Linked DNA regions of Homo sapiens: region 2 is linked to region 1. The links are contacts of gene promoters, found by promoter capture Hi-C in blood cells and fetal thymus (Javierre and others, 2016). All regions are on one chromosome and are shown on one strand. Each heading gives the region's core, a stretch centred on a gene start or on the middle of the fragment in contact. The rest is flanking DNA. Distances are from core to core; before and after follow the strand shown. Region 1 holds the start of MYOM1 (myomesin 1). Region 2 overlaps LPIN2 (lipin 2).

Region 1 (5,403 bases), core at 1,012-3,511:
GCATGGTGGCTCATGCTTGTAATTCCAGCACTTTGAGAGGCCAAGGCAGGAGGATTTCCTGAGCCCAGGAGTTTGAGACCAGCCTGGGCAACGTGGTGAGACCTTGTCTCTATTATAAAAATTTAAGATAAAATAAAATAAGTAAAATAAAGTCCTAGAACTGAACCCTGGAGTATGCTAATCTTATATATAAGCTCTCTCAAATCTCACAAACATTTCAAGCAAAGGTATAGTCTCAAACCAGAAAACAAAACAAAACAAACAAAAAAACCTGTTTGCTCTATAAGGAACATGCAGGCTTCTAGTCTCCCTACTTAAAGAGGTAAGAGAGTCGATTCCCAGGGTGACAGCTGGCATTGTGAACTTGAGCTAGCAGTTCTACTAAAAGTCAAAGGTATGTTTGTTTAGCATAGGGTGGGGAGATGTCACATGGCCTTAGCATTCTTGAATAGTTTATCCACTGAAGCAGGCCTATCAGCCACGTTGACAACCCTGGATGAAGTAATAGTTTTATAAAAGCTCCACCCCCAAGTGTTTTAATGCTGTAGAATTAGTTTTAAAGTGATCTGTTTTCTCCAAATGTCATTTTTAAAAAAATTCAAAATGAAGAATGAATCCTTCTAAACTCAGCATATTCTTTGTCAAGTTTAAAACTACTTTTTATTTAAACTATTTTAAAAGTCAGCATGTATTCCCCAGAGAAGAAAACTGAGCAAACTTCACTCCAGAAATATTTATCTTAGGGTTCATGGAAGATATCAGTCTACAGGGCATTTCCTAAGGGAAAAAAATAGCTACTAGCAAGCAACTTTGCTTCAACCCTTAAATAGATGGCTATTTTCTGTTACAAAATATGGAGGATAATTACCATGTATAATTAATAACTACTAGATGAATTTTGATAAAACAAAGGGGTTAGAAAATGTTAATACAGAATTACGTTAGGCAGTTATAAAGATATTAGAGAAGTTTCTGTTATGATACTACATTGTAACATGGCACATGTTATTTGAATGATTTTTCAAATAAATAATAAAGAAACTTGTTATGTTATAAACTAAATTCATTCCCCAGATGACTTGAAATGCTGTTATTTTCACAAAATAAAATCTTTAAATATCTTGCCCCAATACTATTTTTTACTCTCTTTATTTCTATTTCTCCCAAATACATTTATTTTTAATAATACTTACTATTCCTCTCACATAGATAGTAAGTTACAAGTAAACAGGGTTTGACTTGAAGCCCACATTGCTGATTGTCACAGCCCTGACCTCTGGAACAAAGGTACAACCACCTCCTCTTCATCAAGTAAGCCCTTGAAGTTAACTAAAGCCAGGATTAGCTCCAACACATGACGGCTGGAGTACGTTGGGAGGAAAGATGGTTTTAGTGTCTTTTGTTTCTTTAAGACCTAAATTTTCTTTCTGAAAATAATTTGAGAATTTAGGAAGAAATACAAATTCCATAGCTGTAATTTATGATACTTTTGTGCAGGCATTAGAGGGCAGAAGCTGATGAAAACGATTCCCAGAAAAATCACTATGTGGGGCTCTATGTTGCCTCTGAAATATTACTTAACCATTTGAGGCCATATCATTGTGCGCGCTCACATTTATCCACATTGCATCGTCACAGCAAGATCCCTGAATTATAAACTAGTGACTTCAGAGTTAATTTTCCTTCTTTCGGTCTAATTTGTAACCAGGGAGCATTGTATGGCACATGCAGGATTGAAAATGCAGGGCCTCCTGTCTCTCATCCATTTCAGATTTCAACCAAACCGTACTTGGAAATAGCATTAAACACACGCTTACAGTTCAATCCGAGGCAGATATGACCTCCTTACAGTTCCAGGAACAGCAGCTTAATTTCAGAAGAATACAGTGATGTGAGAGAAGAGCTGTGCCAGCCCGACTGGCACCCGGCTGTTCTGGTTTCCCTCCCTGGAGCTTCACTTTCCTATTTCTCTGTTATTCTGACATCTCTTTGAGAAAACTGCTGAGTTCAGAAGACAGAAAGAAAGCACTTACACTGCACTGCTGCTAAGCTCATAAGCTATCAAGTGCATTCTTCTGCCTCAGTGTCACACTTACCAGTTTCCAAAGGAGTAATGGTGGTGGAAATGTTCCGATGAGGCCGAGGAGCTGGATGAGAGAATGAAGACTCCACCTAGGTTGAATCCAAGACAATGTTAAGAGGCAGGGCTAAAGACAGGACCCTGGGGGCCAGTTCAAAAATAATGCATGTGGTCAGGCAGTCGAATGTCAGGCCACACAACCAGCCTTTTATGGCCAAGAAGGCAGATAAATATAGCAGCAGATGGGGAGGGTAGTTCCAAACCAGGAGGAGGAGAGGGGCATGGGCAGGTAGCAGCCTTAGTAATATAATTGCATAATGCCGGTCAATGGGTCTGGCCCGATTAAACCAAATATAGGGTTTTTATTTGGCAACAAGAGTTATTTTCAATGTCACTTTATCAGTAGATAATTTAAAAGTGTAATGGAAAGAGTGGTTTGTGTTAACAGCTAAAAATAGGTGTAGTAATATGATTCTCAAAATGGACTTCGTGGAATTTTAATGCCAAGATATGATTCTGAGTGTGCTGTTAACAACACACGTACGGTACATTTAAAAGATACAATGTGAAAAAAGAACTTGAAGCTAACTAAAGGCAAAACAAGGAAGAAATGGGTTACACGTGGTGGCGATTTTTGCCTGACATCACGGTCACTATTTCTCTCACTTCAGGAAAATTTACAAGGTTAAGTCTTAGCTTCAAGCCTGAATATGTGATTTCCTGTTCATTAACTAAAGCCTTTTGAGACGCAACTCAGTGTTTTATCTTTCCTAACTCAGAGTAGGGTCAGTCCATCTAATAAGAGATTCTCTTTCTTTGTTCTTTAAATGGTGTGACCAATTAAGAGGAGGTGTAACCCGGTTGTGAGAGCCTGTGTTGTGGATTCAGACCAGATCTAGATCCCACTATATTGATAGCACTTAGTAGCCATGTAATCTCCAGCAATTTATTTCTCCTTCCTAAGCTTCAGGTTTTTTGTCTATAAAATGGGGATAATCATATCCAAATTATAGGATTGCTGTGGTGATTAAATGTGATACTGCAGACAGAGCACTTGACCTAGTGACAGTCACATAATATAGACTCAGTAAATATCAGCTGTTATTACTGATACCAATAATATAAAAGCTCATTGTTAGATTACATGTATGCAGCAGGTTGGTATTTTGATCTACTGGCCTTATGTTCTGACAGTGATATTACATCAACTGAATAAAGGTCACCTGTGTCTATCAAAATTGTTTTTCTTTCTGAGACAGGGTCTCACTCTGTTGCCCAGGCTGGAGTGCAGTGGTGCAGTCTTGGCTCACTGCAACCTCTGCCTCCCAGGCTCAAGCAATCCTCCCACCTCAGCCTCCCGAGTAGCTACAGGCGCATGCCATCACACTCGGCTAATTTTTTTTTTTAACTCTTGGTAGAAATGGAGTTTCACCATGTTGCCCAGGCTGGTCTCAAACTCCTGGACTCGAGTAATCCACCTGCCTCAGTCTCACAAAGTGCTGGAATTACAGGCGTGAGCCACTGCACCCAGTCTCTATCAAGATATTGAACAGACTCAATATTATAGTATACTTCATCATGACTTTCTTGATGATAACTACAGTTAACACTGTTGAGGACCTATCCAGTGCCAGACACTGGGATAGGCAGTTTATATACATGATCCCACTGACTTATCATACCTTGCAAGGTACAGCTTCATTACCCCGTTGAGGAAAGCAAAGCTTCCAGAAGGGAAGGCATTTGCCAAAGATCACACAGCGGGTAGATGACAGAAACGCAACTTCATTCAGAGACATTTGATTCCAAAGCCCGTGTACTTGTAGTCATGTATTGCTGGCTCCTCCAGTGGCACTTTGATAGTAAGAAACTAGACATTTTGAAATGGCAATACGGGTCTTCACTTGTAATAGACGGTTAGCTTCTGAGCTACTCAAAGTATGTAAAAGAATCTGTTCCACCTAGTTCTGATCCAGGTACCTGTGAAATTCAACCTGGAATTTCTTCATATACATACCTCTGCTATTAGTAAGCATGTGGACATTTTAGCTATCTGGAAGCCATAGGCGAGTTTTCCAAGTGTTATGTTCCCCAAGCATCCATTTGTTCTCTAAATATCCAATACAGAATGCAGTGATTCTTCTCAAGTCTTATCCACCAGCCATTAGGATGATTCCTGGTGAGCTGTTTCTCTAGAGAACATTGGTCAATTGCCCCAAATCTTCTCAAAGCAGAAAAGAGGAAAAATAAACTTATATGCTTTTTAAAAAGTGTTTTACATTAGATGATTTTCTGGGAAATTTGAAATTAACAGCTGGCTAACCACTCCATTAAGTTTTCAGGATAATCACATATCTGTAAGGGTATCATGAGTAAGTGTAATTGACCAGAGTCCACATATATAAAGGAATCATAACTAAGTTACAATAATTGATTCATATGAGCCCAAGTTTTTCTTCTTTAGTTTTATTATCCAGTACATCACCATATGTAATTTATTATGTAGCTAGTTGTAATTCAGATAAATTTGCTGTTAGAAAAACCTGAATCTAGATGATGCCACAGCAGAAAGATCACTTAGGAGATTCTGCTGGGTCTAGCTCATGCTTCTTTTGTCTAAACTTACTGTATATTTGTTTGGAATAAACTCTTGCTTTCACAGGGATCTTGAGTATCAATGAATCAATGATAATATTTTAGTTTTTCTATAGTGTGTGTGCACTTCTCTCATTTTTGTATTTTTAACAAGGATGAAAGTTCAGTAAATATTTAAATGTATTGATACTTGTAGCCAGTACATTTTGACCTAATAAATTATTGTCTGTTAATAAGAAACATAAATGAAACTCTTCTTCTGTAACATTTCTTCCTTCTAATGGACAGTATTGGCACATGGTGCTCTCTATCAACATAAATGTGTACGTGTGCACATACACACATACACACACAAACAGGCATACACACACAGTTAAATGGTTGAGAGGCAGCATAGTATCATATATAGGAGGCTATGCTCTGTGTGGAACAGTCCTGGGTTCCATCCTCTGTCACCTTCTGGTTGTGACTTTAAGGATATTAATCTCTCTAAATCTCAATTTTTTTTTTCTTTTTGAGACAGGGTCTCTCGCTCTGTTGCTCAGGCTGGAATGCAGTGGTGCAATCTTGGCTCACTGCAACCTCGACCTCCTCAGCCTCAAGCAATTCTCCCACCTCAGCCTCCCGAGTAGGTGGGACTACAGGCACATGCCACAACACCTGGCTAATGTTTGTACTTTTGTAGAGATGGGGTTTCACCATGTTGCCAGGATGGTCTCGAACTCCTG
Region 2 (4,861 bases), core at 587-3,086, 290 kb before region 1:
TGTGTGTATTACTTACATTTACTTGTCATTTCTGCCTCTTCCAATAAACTCTACTAGACTAAGTCACCAATATTTAAAACAAAGGTGTAACTTTTATATTTTACCTACATTTTGTATTTCGCATTCCCTCGCATATAATTTTTTAAACTGAACATTTAAGAGGATTACAGAAAGAATGTGACCTATTTAACTTAGTCCCTAGAATGAACCATTGGCCATAACACACTTTAAATTTCTTGCAAAATATAAAGCAAACAAACAATGAAGAGACAGGGAAGAGGCATAATGAGCTTCCTGTGACCCTGGAAAGGAAAGACTTCAGGAACACATGGTCCTGAGCCTCTGGCCATGCAGTCTGCCACATCACACCTTCAGTTCCTCTAAGGGAGAGGGAAGACAAAAGATGACACTAGTCACGGAAAGAAAATTTTCCCTTAGAAGAAAATCATACAGGGGCCACAGGCCAAACTGAGAAATACTAAGAGTTCAGTTTTAAAAGGAAGGTTAAAAAAAAATGCTGATGAATTGAGGACGGATGCACATGGCACTCAGCCCAGCCTATAGGCATCCTGACATGTCTGCTAAACTCCCTCCTGATTCCTGAGCAAGCTTTACTCTCGTAGGCCAACCCTCCAGCCTTATACAGAAAGTAATCCTCCTAATTTTTGCCAGAAAGACCACGTACTCAGTGGACAATCAATTTTCTACAACTTCAGGGCCCTATATTCATGTCTAAGGCCCAGTGCTTTCCAGAAGGGCAGCTGGGCCCCAGTTCCACAAATGTTTCTGTAACTTTACAGATGAGAAAACTGGTGCAGTGTGATGATCGCACCCTGGCAGCTCAGAAAACAGGGCGGCCTGATAACTCCCAACCTCTTAATTTGAAATTAGAGCCTTTAAGGGCACACTACCTCAAAGCCACTCCATAAAGAGGTGTCAATTAAGACCTTAAGTGAGGGTATAAGGGTCTGACATTACAGAACATACCTGTTACCTGCACAAGATCCCTAAAGAATGTAAATATCCTGAAATGGCTACACGGTAAGTTTTAACCAAGTGATGACCAGATTGCTCTCTGAAATGAAGATGGGGCACAAACACCCAACGTACCTTTTGAAATTTCTCCATTTTCACTGAGGCCCCCGCAAAGGGAGAGGGTAACGTCAGGCAAGTCCATGGCAGAATCTGAGAGGCACTCGGTGCCGCTATCTGCAGCTGCGCTTCCCACGGACTGTGGGGACTGGGAGCCAGAGAGTGTGTCAGACTCGGGCCACTGCCTGGAACCGGGCTCCGATTCACTGTGGACAGGGGATGGGGAAAAGATGTGCTTTATTACAACTCCTTGAATTCCTAGTTTACTGCATGGTTCTCTGGGGGCTCAAACCAAATAACACATCCGCTAAAAAGAACGGATGGACCTACAATCAGGCATAACTTTTCTTAGATAGGGTTTAGAATCATATCATAAATGACATGAAAGATAACCTAATATAGTACCAGTGAGAAATTAACTGTGAATATAGTAAATACGTCACAAAATCACCACGGTCATTCACAATAATGCAAACATTTCAACTGTGGCCTTTCTGATTTTTAATTAAAGGAGTAAAATAGTTATAAGTATTTATTTACATTTCCATGATGAAAATGACAGGGTAATTAAGAAAATCTGCTGTTTGGAAACCTTTGATCCTAACGTCCTAGAAAAAGCTGTGGCACTTTATACATCCTGTAGAAAATTACTGTAGTCCAAGGCTATATTCTTTAAAACCAAATCTTTTCTAAGTTCGCCTATTACCTCACAAAGAAGGAAGGAGAAATTAAACGAGCAAATTCTCTAGAGGCAAGACCCACCTAGAAAAAGAAATGTATTCAGAAATAAACTGGATGTAACTGTTATTCCAGGAGCTAAAGATGAGGTTACTGAATATTTTCATTTTTCAAGATAAGGCACAGAAGCCAGGTTTCAGAAGGTGATCAAGGGAAACCTTATGCAATGAAGTGTAAATTTGAGAAAGAATAATCATGAATGGCACAGCACCTTAAGTCTCACAGTCCCCAATGCTTACTACTCTATACCCTTTGAATAGGTATTTAATGTCACATTTGAGATATTGAGAATTTTCAAATTCACTTATTTTATTCAAAAAGCCAGTATTTTTATGTGAATTAAAAAAACAGTGACCCAGAGGTTTACTGGCTCTTTCAAACAAATCTCATCTTTGAGCAGTAGGTGGCAGCAGACTACAGATTATGTTTTAACTAGGTAACAGTTTCAAAACCTGTTTCCCATTTGAATCAACAAAAAAATTCAGGTTTTTGGATATTTTTTCCTCTTAATAGCCATGCACACTCATACCCACAAAATTGAGATTAACTGGACTGACAGAATGTTCTCACTGGAAACACAAAGTCAGCAGAACTGTTGTTATACTGGGAGTGAGGGGCAAGGCCAACCCTTCTGTGTTCACCACACCTGTCTCCTCTTTCTCCGGGGCACACGGCGAGGCCCCCTTGCAGTCAGGTGGGGCCACGTGAGCACATGACTGAGCCGTGAATATGGACGGAAGGCATACATGGTGCCCCTCCCCAGGGGCCCTCTCCTATGCGATGCTCATTCCTTTCTCTGCTGCCAGTAAACTCTGGACTCTGAGACCCTATGGGGATGGGAGAGCCTCAAGGTGAAAGGAGCCTGTGTTCCTGAATCCCTGTGGGCAAGGCCTCCCCCTAAACACCAACACAGAGCATTCTTCACAGGGGCAAGAAACAAAATTCCATCGTGGTAGGCCAACGAGATCAGGAGTTCCACCTCTACAGCAGCTAGTGTTACCCCAACCAGTAACAACAACATCTACACACATGGGGATGCCGTCTGACTCAGGATGCCACCAAATACAAAAGTGTGTGATTTATATTAAAGTTTAGTGATAATTACAAATACTGTAAATTTGGTAATGAAGATGCTAAGGATCATGACATGACTAATGCTTACATGGATTACAAGAGTCTCACTCACTATCTTTAAATATTTATGAAATGTTTCAAGAAATAGTTAATGAGGTAAGAAGCTTACTTAGTGCATGGACAGTGACTGTGAACAGTTAAATTACAGTAGAGTGGAGTAAGGTATCATCACCTTAGTTACTCTCCTCACTTTTTAAAAGAGAAACTAAGACATATACCGAAGGAATACCAATATAAATAAATGATTAAGGCCTGGGAAATGTGGGGGGAAAAGTGGTAATTCTATGACAGCTTATATTTGAACTTTCCTACTGTTAAAATAAAGCCGTTTCAGTTTTTTCACCTTAAAAAAATCCAACTATTACTTCAAATGAAGTAGATATGTTGAGATAAATTTAGGACAGAGCTAGAAAGGAGTTTTAAGAACTTTCCCAAAATACCTGTAAAAAATTTAAATAGCTTTATATCAATCCCATCTTTCTATTCCAAATAAAAAACAAAATATACTTTTCAGTAATTCATTTACAAGTGTTTAATTATGTGTGCCTATGGCTCAGTATATTCAAGTCATACTTTCCGTGGAGAAAAGTTGTTTTTTTCTAACCACAGAGTAGCAGTTTAACAGAATTCCCCTAAGAGTAGAAATGAACTTGGGAAGGCAGTCCAAGTGTATCATATTTGAGGCCCATATTTGAAGTAATTCAAAGGGAAAATGGTGCGGGACAGTGAGGGAGGCTGGGTGGCAGCTGTGGAGCTGCAGGGGATGTGGGGACACGGGGCGCGGGGGCAGTGCCCCACCAGACCCAGACCCGGTTCAGAAAAGGCTCAGGATCTCAGACTCCCAAGAAGTGAACACATTCTTTGGAAAACATTTTCAAATAAAGATGTGTTTCTTTTAAAACACATAATAAAATAAATGCTAAAAAATTTTCCCAAGCATGTTGAGTTTGTATTAACCACTACAGGAAATGCTAATCAGAAGTCATATACCCTTATGTAGGTTTAACTAGTATATCTCTCCTCATTGTATTGAAAATGTCTTCGTAAGTAATTATTAATTTCAAGTCACTATATTGAAATAAGACACGCGCTATTTCTAAATTTTCCAAAACCTGAAGCCATCATCAGATTTAGCTAAAGGACACCATCATCTTGTTCCTTTTTCCTGAGATGAAATGTTTTACTCTAGAAATAACTAGACTATTTCAGAGCTGTCCTTCAATAAATAAGGACCACTCTACCTTTTAGGGAAATAAAGAGCTGCAACTTCAGGTTCTAGACCCTTTAAGTCATCAAGGTAAATATCATCAGGTCCCTGGTGTTGGCTTCTTTTGTGAACACCTGTTTAAAAAAAAAATCAGAGGTAAGAATTTAGTTATTCTTCATTTACAGCTCTGCAAAACACACGCACGTTTGCAAACAGTAAGAGTGACAAGCAGGATTTGAATAGGGTTTTAATTTTAAAGGTGTCAACCAGCCTTTTTACTTAGGTTGGTTCCCAGCCATCCATGCCAATAGAAGAGAAGTTCAGTGCTCCATACATATACTTTGATTTTACTCATTCTCTCATTTGCTGTTAATTGAGTAATACTAGCCCCTAAATAATTTATATTTTAATGGTGAAGTCTTTTTTGTATTTATAGGTCTAAGAACAAGCATGACCAAACTTAAGGCAACCACCTGCATTGGGAACGAGGGCATTACTCTAAAACCATGAAGGCAAGGTTGTCTGGGCACAGGATATTCACATGGTGCCCAAGTATCCACCCTGCATTACCTTCTAACTACAAAAGGACAAAAAATACTTCACAATGGATAGATGTGGCAGATAACATCTTAAACAATAATCACGTTCAGCATTACTATTAGTGGTCATCATGAGATACAATATGAGTAC

The links. The method cuts DNA at HindIII sites, captures the fragments that hold promoters and counts their contacts. A CHiCAGO score of 5 or more calls a contact.
Region 2: a fragment that was not itself captured here is called in contact with the fragment with the promoter of MYOM1 in region 1 in 16 of 17 cell types (megakaryocytes, erythroblasts, M1 macrophages and 13 more); the score reaches 16.2 in megakaryocytes.

What each region holds. Positions count from the first base shown.
Region 1 is chr18:3,217,707-3,223,109 of GRCh38, forward strand. MYOM1 (myomesin 1) reads right to left here and starts at 2,262. Exons shown (of 38, transcript NM_003803.4): 1 at 2,097-2,262. RefSeq lists a silencer at 265-559. The HindIII fragment of the contact is 10,525 bases long and covers 1-3,042 here.
Region 2 is chr18:2,930,146-2,935,006 of GRCh38, forward strand. LPIN2 (lipin 2) reads right to left here. Exons shown (of 20, transcript NM_001375808.2): 8 at 4,206-4,305; 9 at 1,111-1,298. Among named protein-coding and RNA genes, the nearest start is that of LPIN2-AS2, 34 kb to the right of the region's middle. The HindIII fragment of the contact is 2,459 bases long and covers 608-3,066 here.